Linked DNA regions of Homo sapiens: all the other regions are linked to region 1. Evidence: promoter capture Hi-C in 16 types of primary human blood cells and fetal thymus (Javierre and others, 2016). All regions are on one chromosome and are shown on one strand. The core of a region is centred on a gene start or on the middle of the fragment in contact, and the rest is flanking DNA. Distances in the headings are between cores, read along the strand shown. Region 1 holds the start of PPT1 (palmitoyl-protein thioesterase 1). Region 2 overlaps SMAP2 (small ArfGAP2). Region 3 overlaps SMAP2 (small ArfGAP2). Region 4 holds the start of SMAP2 (small ArfGAP2).

Evidence for each region. Contacts are between HindIII fragments. The CHiCAGO score rates a contact against its expected background, and 5 or more counts as called.
Region 2: a contact is called between a fragment that was not itself captured here and the fragment with the promoter of PPT1 in region 1, in 16 of 17 cell types (total B cells, naive CD4 T cells, total CD8 T cells and 13 more). The highest score is 9.2, in total B cells.
Region 3: a contact is called between a fragment that was not itself captured here and the fragment with the promoter of PPT1 in region 1, in 4 of 17 cell types (M2 macrophages, M1 macrophages, erythroblasts and 1 more). The highest score is 8.0, in M2 macrophages.
Region 4: a fragment that was not itself captured here is called in contact with the fragment with the promoter of PPT1 in region 1 in 3 of 17 cell types (erythroblasts, megakaryocytes and endothelial precursors); the score reaches 5.5 in erythroblasts.

The regions. Positions count from the first base shown.
Region 1 is chr1:40,095,472-40,098,930 of GRCh38, forward strand. PPT1 (palmitoyl-protein thioesterase 1) reads right to left here and starts at 1,781. Exons shown (of 9, transcript NM_000310.4): 1 at 1,644-1,781. The coding sequence starts at 1,767. RefSeq lists an enhancer at 1,516-1,645. The HindIII fragment of the contact is 4,509 bases long and covers 1-3,459 here.
Region 2 is chr1:40,417,300-40,420,758 of GRCh38, forward strand. The region is part of intron 9 of SMAP2 (small ArfGAP2); the gene reads left to right. Among named protein-coding and RNA genes, the nearest start is that of ZFP69B-DT, 31 kb to the right of the region's middle. The HindIII fragment of the contact is 254 bases long and covers 1,613-1,866 here.
Region 3 is chr1:40,390,385-40,393,843 of GRCh38, forward strand. The region is part of intron 1 of SMAP2 (small ArfGAP2); the gene reads left to right. Among named protein-coding and RNA genes, the nearest start is that of SMAP2, 18 kb to the left of the region's middle. The HindIII fragment of the contact is 3,918 bases long and covers 1-3,459 here.
Region 4 is chr1:40,372,843-40,376,301 of GRCh38, forward strand. SMAP2 (small ArfGAP2) reads left to right here and starts at 885. Exons shown (of 10, transcript NM_022733.3): 1 at 885-1,381. The coding sequence starts at 1,279. RefSeq lists silencers at 628-947, 1,018-1,157 and an enhancer at 1,143-1,642. The HindIII fragment of the contact is 857 bases long and covers 1,463-2,319 here.

The sequences.
Region 1 (3,459 bases), core at 531-3,030:
CTGGGTGTCTCATGAGGATCTCAAGTTTAGTAAGCCCAAAAGCAGACTCTTGATCTTTCCCCCACCCTAAGTCAGCTTGTCCTACAGGCTTCCCCATCTTGGTAAAATGAAAACTTCACCCTTCCAATTGTTCAGGCCAAAACCTGTGGAGTCATCTTTGGCTCCTTTCTTTCTCTCTTATTCCAAGTCTGATCTGTTAGCAATCCACCTTCAAAATCTATCCAAACTTTGACCACTTCTCAACACCTCTACTGTTACTCTACAGTTCCAAGTCATCATCTCTTGTTTAAATTATTGCAATAGTTTCCTAACCTGTCTCCCTGTGACCATCCATGACGCCCTACGATCTATTCTTAATACAGCAACTAAAGTGATTCTTTAAAAATGTGTCAGATCATGTCACTCATCTGCTCAAAAAGTTCCCCATGACACTCTAGCCAAAGTCCCTGCATTAGTCTTACTAGGCCCAATAACTTCTGTACCTGCCCCTCCCTTCCAAACTAAACTCCTAACTTCTTCCCCTTGCTTACTCATTTCCAGCCACGCTGATCTGAATGCTGTCCCTTGAACACACCAGACATACTTCCACATCAGGGCTTTCCCATTTACTGTTCCTTCTACCAGACAGCCAAATGGCAACTGTCCTCATCTACCTCAGTTTTGTACTCAGATGTCACTTTTTCAATGAATTCTTTCCCAACTTTGCTTTATTAAAAGTGCAAGCCCCCACCTCCAGTTTTTATCCTACACCCTACTATATTTTTCTCTGTTGCACATATCACCATTTGATATGTTATGTTTTACTTGTTAATTTCTTTATAATCTGCTTCTCCTACTGGAGAGTAGGTTCCAAAAGAACAAAGAATTTAGTCTGTTTAGTTCCCTACTGTATCCTCAGCACCTAGTAGGTGCTCAATAACTGTGTTAAATGAATATAGGTTGAGCATCCTAATCTGAAAATGGGAAACCCAAAATCTGAAAGTTTTTCAGCGCAGACATGATGCCACAAGTGGAAAATTCCACACCTGACCTCATGTGATGGGTTGCACAAAATTATTTAAAATATTGCATAAAATTACCTTCCAGCTATGTGTATAAGGTGTATATGAAAAATAAATAAATTTCCTGTTTACACTTGGGTCCCACCCCCCAGATCTCTTGTATATATGCAAATATTAAAAAAAAAAAAATCCGAAATGCTTCCCAGTCCCAAGCATTTCAGATAAGGGTTACTCAATTTGTAAATGAACTGTAGGTGCCTAACAAATCTCTGTTCAATGTGTGAAGGAATAAATAAAAGGGTAGATGCGCCAGTCATATAGCCAGCCGCAGCTCACCTAGCCTGACCAAGTGAGAGATGCTGCATCCTGACGCCACTACTGTAAGGATTAATCAAGGACAGCATGTAAAACTTCAACGCCGTGCGCGGCTCTCTCTTTCCTTCCCCTTCTCTCTTTCCAGTGAAGGGGACGGCTCCTTCCCCTTCTCTCTTTCCAATGCAGATCCTTCAAATCCTAAAATGTCGAGGCAGCCGCGTGCTGTGGGACCACGTCCTCGCCCTCTACACCCGCATTTTGCAGATGCGAACCCAGGCTAGGAAGAGAGAGAATCGCCAAACCCTTTTAAATTTCTCACTCACTCACCCATCCCATGCCAGATCACCAACGGCAGCGGCGCCGGCGGGTCCAGATGCTGCAGCGCCCGAGAAGCGCAGGTCCATGGCAGGAGAGCCACAGCCAAGAGCCACAGGCAGCCGGGCGACGCCATCTTCGCTGTGTCACATGACCGCGGGCGCGAGACTCCGGGAACCGCGCTCCGCCCGCCTGGGCGTGGCGCCGCCGGTTGCAGATCGCAACCTGCGCATCCCGAACGGATGCCCAGCCTGATGGGCGTCGGCCCTACCCTGGAGCTTTCAGCGCGACAGGTCCCCCGCCAGACCCCGCTGGCCGAGTGGGGCTCTGCGCTCTCGTAGACCGCCCTCTGCGGTGAATCAAAATAATTGCTAACATATATTCAGTGCTGATCAGATGCTATCAGGCACTATTCTTACAACCTTTAACTAATTCACTCTTCATAACAATGCTGTATGCACTTCTCCCCCTGACAGGTGAGGACACTGAGGCACTGCGAATTGGCACTGAGTAAGGTGCCCAAGGTCACAGAGATAGCAAATTGGTGGTTCCAAAGTCGTTGCTCTTCACCACTGCCCTGTACTGCCTTTGCAAGAAACATGCACAGAGGAAGGAAGAAAGAAGGAGGGACGGTTTCCAGCCAGGACCAATCATGGCAGGGTGTGGGGTTTGTTCTGGATATTGAAGGAGAGGTAGGATTTCAACAAGCAAAGATGAAATTCAGAAGGACTGAGATGAGCTAAGGTAGAGAGGAGAAAGACAACTGTGTTTTCTAGAAATGTCGGGACTTCAAGACGGACGAAAGCATATGTTGGATGCATAAGAGTGAGGGGGAAACCCATGGCCACTAACTGGCCTAATCTCAGCTGGATTATTTCAAGGGTCTCTCATCAACCATTTCCTTTTCCATTCTCTCCTCTTTAATTCATTTTATGCTCTATTGCCACATTCATCCCTCAATCCACCTTCATAATATCAGTTCCCTGCTCAAGTTTTTTTTCAACAAAACATCAAAAAATAGTTTAAATAATTTATAAAGAAATTAGAGTGTATCCACTATACAATGGAATAATATGAGGCCAGTTTTATAAAAAATGAGTATAGGGCCGGGCGCGGTGGCTCACTCCTGTAATCCCAGCACTTTGGGAGGCTGAGGTGGGCAGATCATCTAAGGTAGCGAGTTCGAGACCAGCCTGACCAACATGGAGAAATCCCGTCTCTACTAAAATTACAAAATTAGCCGGGTGTGGTGGCGCATACTTGTAATCCCAGCTACTCAGGAGGCTGAGGCAGGAGAATCTCTTGAACCCGGGAGGCAGAGGTTGCGGTAAGCTGAGATCATACCATTGTACTCCAGCCTGGGCAACAAGAGCAAAACTCTGTCTCAAAAAATAAGAATAAAAAATAAATAAAAAGAGAGTACAGCCCAGGCAGCATAGCAAGACCCCATCTCTACAAAAAAAAAATTTTTTTTTAATTAGCCAGGGGTGGTGGTATGTGCCTGTAATCCTAGCTACTGGGGAGGCTAAGGTGGGAGGATCACTTGAGCCCAGGAGTTCAAGGCTGCATTGAGCTATGATCTCGCCATTGCACTGAGCTATGATCTCGCTGTTGCCCTGGGCAACAGTGAGACCCTGTCTCTCTCAAAAAAGAAAAATGAGGTAAATTTACATAAAGTGACATGAAAAATGCCCTTAATATGTTGTAAAAGAAAAGTCGATTACAAACCCACGGTCTGTAATCTCTTCTATTCCATGCCATTGGGACTAGAGGTAAGTTGTTAGTTGAAAAGTCGATTAAAATGCAGAATCCACTGGGCGCACTTTGG
Region 2 (3,459 bases), core at 490-2,989, 320 kb after region 1:
GAATAAGCCCAACTGCCTAAATCTGAATCTCTCCACACATTCTCAAAAGCAAAAACAAACACACAAAGAAACCCTGTACAAACAATGAATGCAGATATTCTCACAACAATCTCATTTGGTAGACAGAATACTGCAAGGTTCAAATGGCATGGCAATGGGCATATAAACACCAAATCCAGCGGAGCCAGCATCACAGAGGAGACTGTAAAAAGAGAAGATGGAGCAGGGGCCTAGCAATAATACCACAGATAAAGTAACCCCCCAGAAGGAGAAGGACCTACCCTCATCAAAGACATACTGAGAACAGGTCTGAGATGTGGTAGATTAGAACTCTGTTTACTTGGAGGATCAAAAATAAGAGACTTCAGATATATAGGAGTATAGGTAGTAACCTTGGGAAAGCATTGCTTCTCGGGGAGATGGGCATGGCCTAAAAGGAGGAGGTACCCTTTAGAGGACTGGTGGTGAAGGAAAGAAAGACACGAGAAATGGGAATGAGAATCACAAAATCAAATATACACCTTCTTCCCTCTTCCAAAATAACCACTTCACTAATAAAAGATGGTGCTCTTAATCTAAGAAATTTAGTAAGCCTCCCCAAACCTTCACACCTATTATTGCTGATTGAGAAAAAATAAGACCTTACAAAAATGAACCAAACATGGAAGCTGACATTTGTACACAACTACTACAGGAAGAAAATAGAAAATGAAAATCAAAACATTTCACGTAATGAATATTCTCCCTCAAAAAACAGTCATGAAGCAGAAGAAAATTGTTACACAATCTACCAATCTGAATTAAATGTCCTTAAACATTTGCAGATAAGACAAAACACCTTAAATCAGAAATTCAAAAACTTAAAGCCAAAATGGATAAAAAACTGCATGCTGTGAAATGAAAGTTTACTAAACTCAGAAAAGAAATTGAAGAAAAAGCCAAAATTTTCGTATAAAGACTCAATTACAAGTTAGCTAAAGAACAATAGATTGAGCTGAAAATATATTCGGCATTGAGGAAAGGCATGAAACAGCTAAGAGAATGAAAACTAAATATAGAAAGTAGTAAAAAGAATTAGATGGAAATTAATATGGAAGTTAGGCAAAGAAAACTTACATATATTTGGAGATGCCCAAAGAAATAAAGACAAAATAAATAAAATATGGGACAGTATTAATGTGTTTAACACCAGAAAACATTCTAGAAATAAAAGACTTGGATATAATATGGAAAGAGCCCACTGTGTGTCTGGGAAAATTGACCCAGAACAGTCAACTTTAAAACATATCCCAGCAAATCTACAGACTTTAAAGAACATTCAAAATGTTTAGGGGTCCAACCTTTTCCATACCTCCTACCCACAAAAATCTGTTACTTAGAACAAACAAAAAATACCCAGGTTGACATCAGACTTCCTAGCAGCAAAATACAAAAAGAATAACAAGGAGAGTAGTATTTTAAAGACACTCAAGTGTATGCAAGACACAACAAGTATTTTACAACCAAGCCAGCCAAGCTATCCTTCAGGTATCAAGGCTGTAAAAAATAAATATGCAAGAACTCAGAGAATATCACACTTACAAGACTTTCCTGGGGAATCTAACAGAAGATAAGCTTCATCCACCTAAGAGATGACTGGGGTCATTTTCATTTTTGGCAAAAGAACTGATGGTGAGAATTGAATGTTTAATTGAGAATCTAAGACTAAAACAAAGGTGGTGACAAGCGTTGCAGAATATACATTATATTCTGACAAACAAATACAACTGAAAATGAAGGAGGAGGGAGAAAAGTTGAATAATAAATATTGTATGGGAAAGAAGTAGAAATCGAAGGATGCAATAAGCTGACAAACCAAATCACGGAAGCTTGAATAAGGAAAAAGGAGACCAAGGACATTGCTAAAAAGTATTACTATGAAGGTAATCACTAGAACAAACACGTGAAATGTTCTGAATACCAAGATAATTTTCTTCCTTTCTTTTTTTTTTTTTTTTTTGAGACAAAGTCTCACTCTGTCACCCAGGCTGGAATGCAGTGGCACAATCTCGGCTCACTGCAACCTCCGCCTCCTGGGTTCAAGTGATTCTTCTGCGTCAGCCTCCCGAGTAGCTGGGATTACAGGCACCCGCCACCACACCCGGTTAATTTTTTTTGTATTTTTTAGTAGAGACGGGGTTTCACCATGTTGGCCAGGCTAGTCTCAAACTCCTGACCTCAGGTGATCCACCCACCTTGGCCTCCCAAAGTGCTGGGATTACAGGCATGAGCCACTGCGCCCAGCTGAGAATTTTTAAAAACAGACTACAAAGTGCAGCAAATACAATAAACACAGTAAAAATCTAATATGATGGAGTTGAGACCAAACATACCAGTCATACCAGTAGGCAACTCTTCTATCAAAAGAAAATGATGTTCAAATTGGCTAACAAAGCAACACTAGTTTTGCACTAGGTACAAAGAAATACAAAGTGATTTAATGTGAAAACCAAGAGACAGGCAAAGGAACCCCAGAGAGGTGGTATGGTGCATGTGTACTGCACATGTGCATGTATAGCTATCTTTATCAGGGTTATACTTATTTATAAGAAGTACTTTTATGTTTTTGTTTCTCTGTGGTCCAGAATAATTTATGTAGCTCTGGTCTTTGAAGGTTTTGTGGAATTCCCATGTGAAGTTTGTGGGCACTATTGCTTTTTTTGTAGCAAATCTTTGATACTTTTCTCTGTTTCTTCTATGGAAGTCAATTTTGGAAAACTGTATTTACCTAGATTTTCCATTTCGCCAAGGTTTTCAAATTTATCAAAAGTTATGCCTAGCAGTCTCATTAATTTTTTTCAAAGAACCAGGATTTCGATTTATTGGTGCTACATTTTTCCGTTTTCTACCTCAATTTCCGTAGGCTTTCTATGGGTTTACTTTGTTATTTTCTAGCTTTCATAGTGGAGATTTTAATTCACTTATTTTCATTGTTTCGTTTTTATTTATATAAGTAATGGAATGCTATAAGTCTGATGGGAATATGTCAGAGGGACGCATGAGCCAACTTCCAGTGGCTCTGACTGGCCAAATGTGAGACAATTTGAACATCAAAAAGAGTAACAACAGTAATGGATTATGACACACTGAATGGAAAAAACAAAACAAAACCATGAGTCCACGGTGATATTTTTTAAAAACCAGGTGTGGAATGGAGGGAGGAAAAGCCTTCTTTACAGAAGAATGACAGTAGTTGTAAAAAGAGCAAAGGATTGACACATTTGCAAAGAAATGCCCTTCAGATTATTTATTAATTATAATGAAAGAAATATAGTCACTACCTCAGCCAAGTGATCAAACATAAAATTACTGACAGAGGAACAAAGTAATGTCATATGCTTCCTGATATTTTGTACTAAGAAAGACATGTGTCACCTCCATAGAATCTTGCCAAAAATATTGAACCTCGATCCAATTATG
Region 3 (3,459 bases), core at 568-3,067, 290 kb after region 1:
TCTTGCACAAGGGCTCATTTGCTCACTTAGAAGGTTTTATGTAGAGCCTCTGCCTGGGTGAAAGACATGAGCTTCCCTGGAAACAATTGAAAAACATCTTCTGCCTGGCCACTCAGTCTTGAGCTCTAGTAGGTTACACTGTTTTTCCCTTCTGGGCTTCTTTTTGAGGAAGGGGAGTGTGGATGGGAAGAAATCTTCACAATCAGTCTCAGATTCCCAGCAGCAGAGAGTGAATTGTATGTTGTAATAATAAAAAAAAGAATACCTAAAGAACAAGATATCAATTTAGTGACCATTATTGAGCATTTACTATGTATAACACACATTTGGGTGTGTAAAGGTGATTCTAATTTCAGTCCAGCTGATCCTTTCTTCTGTGAACTTGGGCAAATGACTTGACCTCTCTAGGCCTTAGTTTCTCCAACTGTGCTTAGACTAGATCATTCCTAAGGTTTGTTACAATTTTAGAATTTTGTACTCTAAACGTGTATCTGTTTGTTACAGAACAAGAGAGGCTTTTCCACAAAATTGACATATTCTTATGTCTCACTTCAAACTAAATGGCTTAAAAATGGTTCCTCTAGAGCAGGATTTCTCAACCTCAGACTATTGACATTTTGGGTGATTCCTTGTTGTGGGCACTGTCCAGGGCATTTTAGAATGTTTAGGAGCCAGCATTCCTGTCCTCTGCCCACTAGATGCCAGTAGCTCTTCCCTACCCCTCTGCCCGTTGTGACAACCAAAAATGTCTCTAGACATCAGCATTGCCCCTTGAGGGGAAATCGTTTCTGTTGGGAGCCATTGGTCTAGAGGAACAAAGATGGGACTATTTGAATATGGGCTGTTTTTAATATCAGTTTTCATGTTATTCCACTATTGCTTATTACCTGTTTAATCAGTAAGCATGCATTAAGTGTATACTATACACAGATGAATGCCGACGCTTGATTATGAGGGACTTTAATGACCATGTCAAGTTTTCAAATGTTGAGTCCACCTGGCCAACTTTGAAATGATTGCCCAGCTGTTAGCGCAGCAGTCCCTACACGCCTACACCCACCAGCCTGCTATTAGCCTTGGTCAGGGTAATGATTGAAATGTATGAAAGCATTCACTCACAAAGGCTATCAGATAGCAACCTAGGAAGGCCCTGGGATTGTGAGTTATGGATCGGGACTGGGTCTTGTGCATCCAGAATCTAGTATTATGATAGTTATCCCTTCAGCTTCCTAGGGGAAAAAAATTCCTCGTCAAAGTGGTGGGGTGAGGAATCTATCCTAGGGATGGAGGATGAAGAGCAATCTCATTGGACAATGACCATATCACCCTTTTTAGTAGCTTCTTCTAAACATAGGCCCTTTCCCTCCCGCAGTGGGCAGGCTCACTTTGCAGCTTTAGTTTTTTGTTTTGTTTTGTTTTGTTTTTGTTTTTAAATATATGAGTAGATACTGGTTGTTGCAAAGAGGAAGTTAAACTGAAGTAACCTAAAAATGTAAAGAACTGAATGTCCCCAGGAGATGAAGACAGTAACTTGAGAACCAAGTTTGCTTATATTACCTGAAGTGAGGTCACTAGGAAATTGGTTTAATTATAGTATCAAGTTTTGAAATATCAGGTCCACCTGGCTGACTTTGAAATGATTTGCCCAGCTATTAGCTCAGCAGTCCCTCCCTGCACACCAACTCCACCCAGCCTATTGTTAGCCATTGAAGTGGTGATTGAAATGCATTAGATTGCCCAAGAAATCTAATCTTTGGACTTGCTACATTTGCTATAAAATATCAGTTTAGGTTTAATAACTTTGAATTTGCTCCCAGTACCCCCAGATTTTCTCATCTGTTTTAAATTCACATTCTGCACTTGGTCGGGTGCAGAATGGTGCTTCTCGCTGATTGGGGTAGAGTGTGTTCTGTGAGCATCTTTGCTGGGATGCTCTGGGATTCCAAAGCCATGATTCAGACACTTAAGCCTGTGTCAGTCCCTATCCTTAGGTCCTGGCAGGCTCCGTGTTCCATTCCAGCTGAGCCTTTGCTGGAGTAATTACCCACATGGAGTCTTCAAGCCAAACAATTGTTTGTACTGAGATAGTCTCACTGTTTGGCTCCTAATGAAATAATCTCTTTCCTGCCCTCAATGAAAGCAGCTATTTTTTGTGTCCTCCCTCCCCTATTCAGAGAAGCCATGTCTCATCCACCACTCTTCCAGCTTATTCATAAATGCTTTAAGCAGGGTCTTTGTGTAAAGGAAATTGGCTGGAGCTGAAATATCATAGGCTAACCAGGAGACAAGGAGCATTAAGGACACCCTTTTCCTTGACTTTCTATTTAGGGTATTTAAATTACCTTTCTGTGATTTTCTGTAATAAGCAATCTAAAACTTAAATCCACATAAGCAAAATAGTCATACTAGGTTTTTAAAAAGTATACTAAATTAGGCCGGGCTCAGTGGCTCATGCCTGTAATCGCAGCACGTTGGGAGGCCGAGGCAGGTGCATCACTAGGTCAGGAGATCGAGACCATCCTGACTAACATGGTGAAACCCCGCTGTCTCTACTAAAGACACAAAAAATTAGCCAGGCGTGGTGGCATGCACCTGTAGTCCCAGGTATTCGGGAAGCTGAGGCAGGGGAATAGCTTGAACCCGGGAGGCGGAGGTTGCAGTGAGCCAAGATCACACCACTGCACTCCAGCCTGGGTGACAGAGCGTGAATCCATCTCAAAAAAAAAAAAAGTATACTAAATTAGTATAATTTTATTGTTGTTGTTACCTAAAGGAGCTCTCAAAAATAAAAGCTGGCCAGGCGTGGTAGCACATGCCTGTAGTCCCAGCTACTCAAGAAGCTGAGGTGGGAGGATTGCTTGAGCATAGGAGATTGAGGCTGCACTGCACTCTAGCTTGGGCAACAAAGCAACAAACCCTATCTTAGAAGAACAAACAAAAAACCCAACAACAGAACAACCACAAATGAGTGAGTGCAGCAGGAGAGGCAGCAGAGCGCCGTGGGAGTTGGAATAGGAAGGAGAAAAGGCTTCATGGGGAAAGTGGGCAGAGCAAGATTTGCACAAAAAGATGTTTTGCAAATAGAGGAAATAGGCCCTGTAAAGCTATTTGTGAGAGACTGTAAGTTGATCAACAAAGTGTAAGTAGTTCTTCTAACTTTTTTTTTTTTTTTTTTTTTTGTGACAGAGTCTTGCTCTGTCGCCCAGGCTGGAGTACAGTGGCTCAATCTTGGCTCACTGCAACCTCCACCTCCCAGGTTCAAGCGATTCCCCTGCCTCAGCCTCCTGAATAGTTAGTATTACAGGCGTGAGCCACAATGCCTGGCTAATTTTTGTATTTTTAGTAGAGATGGGGTTTCAGCATGTTGGCCAGGCTGGTCTTGAACCCCTGACCTCAGGTGATCCACCGGCCTTAGCATCCCAAAGTGCTGGGATTAAGGCGTGAGGCACCGCGCCCGGC
Region 4 (3,459 bases), core at 641-3,140, 280 kb after region 1:
GATACTTAGAAATTTCTCAGTAACATCGTGCTCAGTGAATGAATGAATGAATGAGTGAATGAAAACACAAGCCAGATGGCAGGTGGATCCCTAAGGAAAAGGACAGCCAATGAGAAATTATCTGTAGCAACGGTGGCTTTGGATGATGATGTTTAATAATCATTTTTAAGGAGTTGCCTGTTGTGTGCTATGCTTTAATCACTGTCCCCCACCCTTCCCAAATAACGTTCAGTAAAAGTCTGCCACAAAAAACTCGCTGTTTTGTGAGAATTTAAGAAATGGAAGAAGAAACAAACTGTCTGGGCACCAGGCCAAACAATATCCAAAAAGGCAGGAGTCACAGAGGAGAGCTAATGAGTATTAGTGGGAGCAGGTATTCCAAGTGAGAGGTGACCAGAGTCCTCTGAAAATGTGGGGAGGGGGTGACGTTCCTATATCCTGGGTTAGGGGCTTGGACTCTTATATTTGGCTGTTGGAAAAAACAAGCTGGAGGACTTTGGGGTATCAACAACCCTCAGGTTACATAAGGATGATCATAGGGTCGTTGTGAGGATTATGTTGGGATAGTTCATGCAAAGCGCTTAACACAGTGCCTAGCGCATAGTAAGAGCTCAGTAAATGTTAGTTGTTGTCTTCCTTCACTTTCTTCCATTCCCTCCACTCCCTTTCTACCAGGCTCCATTCATTCTCTTCCAAGGACACGCAGGGGGCGTGCCCACCCCTTCCCTCCGCCCCCACCCAAGGCCCGCCCCCCGCTTCTCCACGGATTGGTTCCCGAGAGGCGGAGCTGAAGGAAGAGCCCAGTGCGGCGCGGTGGGGGCGGGGCGCATGCGCGAGCTGGGCAGGGTGGAGGTGGGGAGGAAGAGCTGCCGGAAGTAGGCGGTGGAGGTGGTAGCGGAGCTGACGGCAGCTGCCAGGGAAACCGAGGCGCGGGACGCAAGGCCAGCAGACAGGCCGGCCAGAGGGTCATCTGCGTCCGGCACCCAGGAGGCTCGTGGTCCGCCTTTGCCTGGGCTGAGGGTCTCTGGCCCCGCAGCCTCTCTTGGAGGCGGGCCTGTCCCTAAGCCCGCCAAGGGGCGCCGCGCCGAGGGGCTGCGGAGTGGGGGACGGACGCCCCCGACCCGGGAAGGGGCGTCCGGCGGGGCCGGAGGAGAGGGCTCTCCCCGCTCAGGAGGTGCCCCTGGGCGGGGGACCGGGAGTCCTCAACCCCGGACTGAGGCAGGGGTCTCTGGGGGCGAGGAGGGCGCGTCGCCCTCTGCCCCCGCCGGCACCCTGGCCATGACAGGCAAGTCGGTGAAGGACGTGGATCGGTACCAGGCTGTCCTGGCCAACCTGCTGCTGGAGGAGGATAACAAGTTTTGTGCAGATTGCCAGTCTAAAGGTAGCGCATCCCACCTGGCGGGCCAGGGGTCCAGCCGCGCCGGGGTGGTGGGGGTGGGCTGCGTGAAGAGGCGGTTTCTGAAGCTTAGGCCGCCCAACTCGGCTTATAAGTGGTAACGCGTGCTGCGCTTGCAGTGAGCCTACTGGGCTTTCTGCAGCTGGGGGATTGGTATGGGTAGAGCTTGCGAGGGCGAGTCTGTGTGTGTCGGGGAGGGTGGAGGTGATGGTGCGGGTGGAAGTTGCCTGGCGTGTTCAGGTGAGAATGTCTGTATTTGAGGGCTCTGAATGAGTTCTGGGCCGGCTGTCCAGAGAGAGCTCCCAGCATGTCACTTGCAAAGCTGGGGATGAACTGCATTGCGTGCGTGCGTGCGTGCGTGTGTGTGTGTGTGTGTGTGTGTGTGTGAGAGAGAGAGAGAGAGAATGACGAGGAGGAGGAGGAGGGAAGTGAGATGGCGGAAAGGAAAACTGCTTAAATGATTTTTAAAGGTGGTGATTTTTGCTTCCTGCTATTTGGTTAGCAACTCCTGTCATTTTGCAGCCTTGCTAAGATCTGACAAGAGTGCTTAGGTGACTTTATTCTTCTGGATGTGTGCAGTGGGAAACTGCCTTATGCAGTGACACAGTGCGGATTTCTAGGCAGTGTAGCCCTGGCTTGTAGAGTGCGTTGGAGGCCTATGTATGAGTGGTGGCAGAAACTAGCCGATTATGCCTGTAGTGCAGGATCCGTTTAATCAGTGGAGAGAGAAAGATGAATTCGATGAATTCATTGCTTCCATGGCGATTACACTTCTAAAGGTGAAATATGATCATTGTAAATTGGCAGAACCATTTAGTCTTTGTTTTCTGTGCCCTAGAAGATTCATGATTTGATACAATTAAAAGTCAGTACAATAGGAAATCTTGGTTATTAGTGAAATGTTGGCACTTGACATTTATACAAGCTTCTATGAATCTTTTTTTCCTGTATTTTCTAATTCTTTTGGCATATAATTGGAGGATTGGGAAAATTATTTTCCCTTTGGTTGGGTCGAAATGGATAGTTATATTTTGGGGGCGACAATTTACTTTTGTTCATAATGCAGTGGATTTGCCATGGTTGTTTGCCGTACAGCGTAGTGGGCATATACTATAAAACAAAGATTCAGTTATATTCGTATTTATCTATTTTGAGAAAGGAAGGACATATTTAATTGATGCTTTCACTTAATTACCTTTTATTTTTGAAGAATAAGGTTATAAAAGGAGAACAGGGGAGGGATACATAGACACCTAGTAATGTATTTTAGTGACCTCTACCAACAGATAAATGGAATGTGCCATTAGGAAAACAAATTCCTAGACTTCTTTCCTGAATTTTTGCATTAGCAATAATTCATTTTAAAAAGTATTTTAGAATCAATTTATGTTGAGTAGGTTAGCTTCTTGATTCTTGTTACATCTTCTGTTAGGTCTATTGGAAGATTTGGTTTATTTTAGGAGTGTATCTTGGCTTTATTCAAATTCCCTTATGTCCTCATTTGACAGATCTTGAGTCACAGTGAAGCAACCCACTGGAGTGAGCATTGCTGCATTTGGAGAGTCAGATGCCATTTTGGTGACTAGAACCCCCCCCCCCATTTCTCATATTACCCTTATACTTACTCATATTCCAATAAAATACAGCACATGGAAGAGAGAGGCTGATTCACTACTTCTTCCTCCAAATTTCCATTGCTTTTTATTTATTTTATTTTTTATTTTTATTTTTTGAGACAGTTTCGCTTTGTCGCCCAGGCTGGAGTGCAATGGTGCAATCTCGGCTCACTGCAACCTCTGCCTCCCGGGTTCAAGTGATTCTCCTGCCTCAGCCTCCCGAGTACCTGGGATTACAGGCGCCCGCCACCATGCCCAGCTGATTTTTGTATTTTTAGTAGAGACAGGGTTTCACCATGTTGGCCAGGCTGGTCTTGAACTCCTGACCTCAGGTGATCCACCCGCCTCAGCCTTCCAAAGTGCTGGGATTACAGGTGTGAGCCACCATGCCCAGCCCGAAATTTCCGTTGCTTTTTATTAATAAGCTTACTGGGGATCAGGTTATGA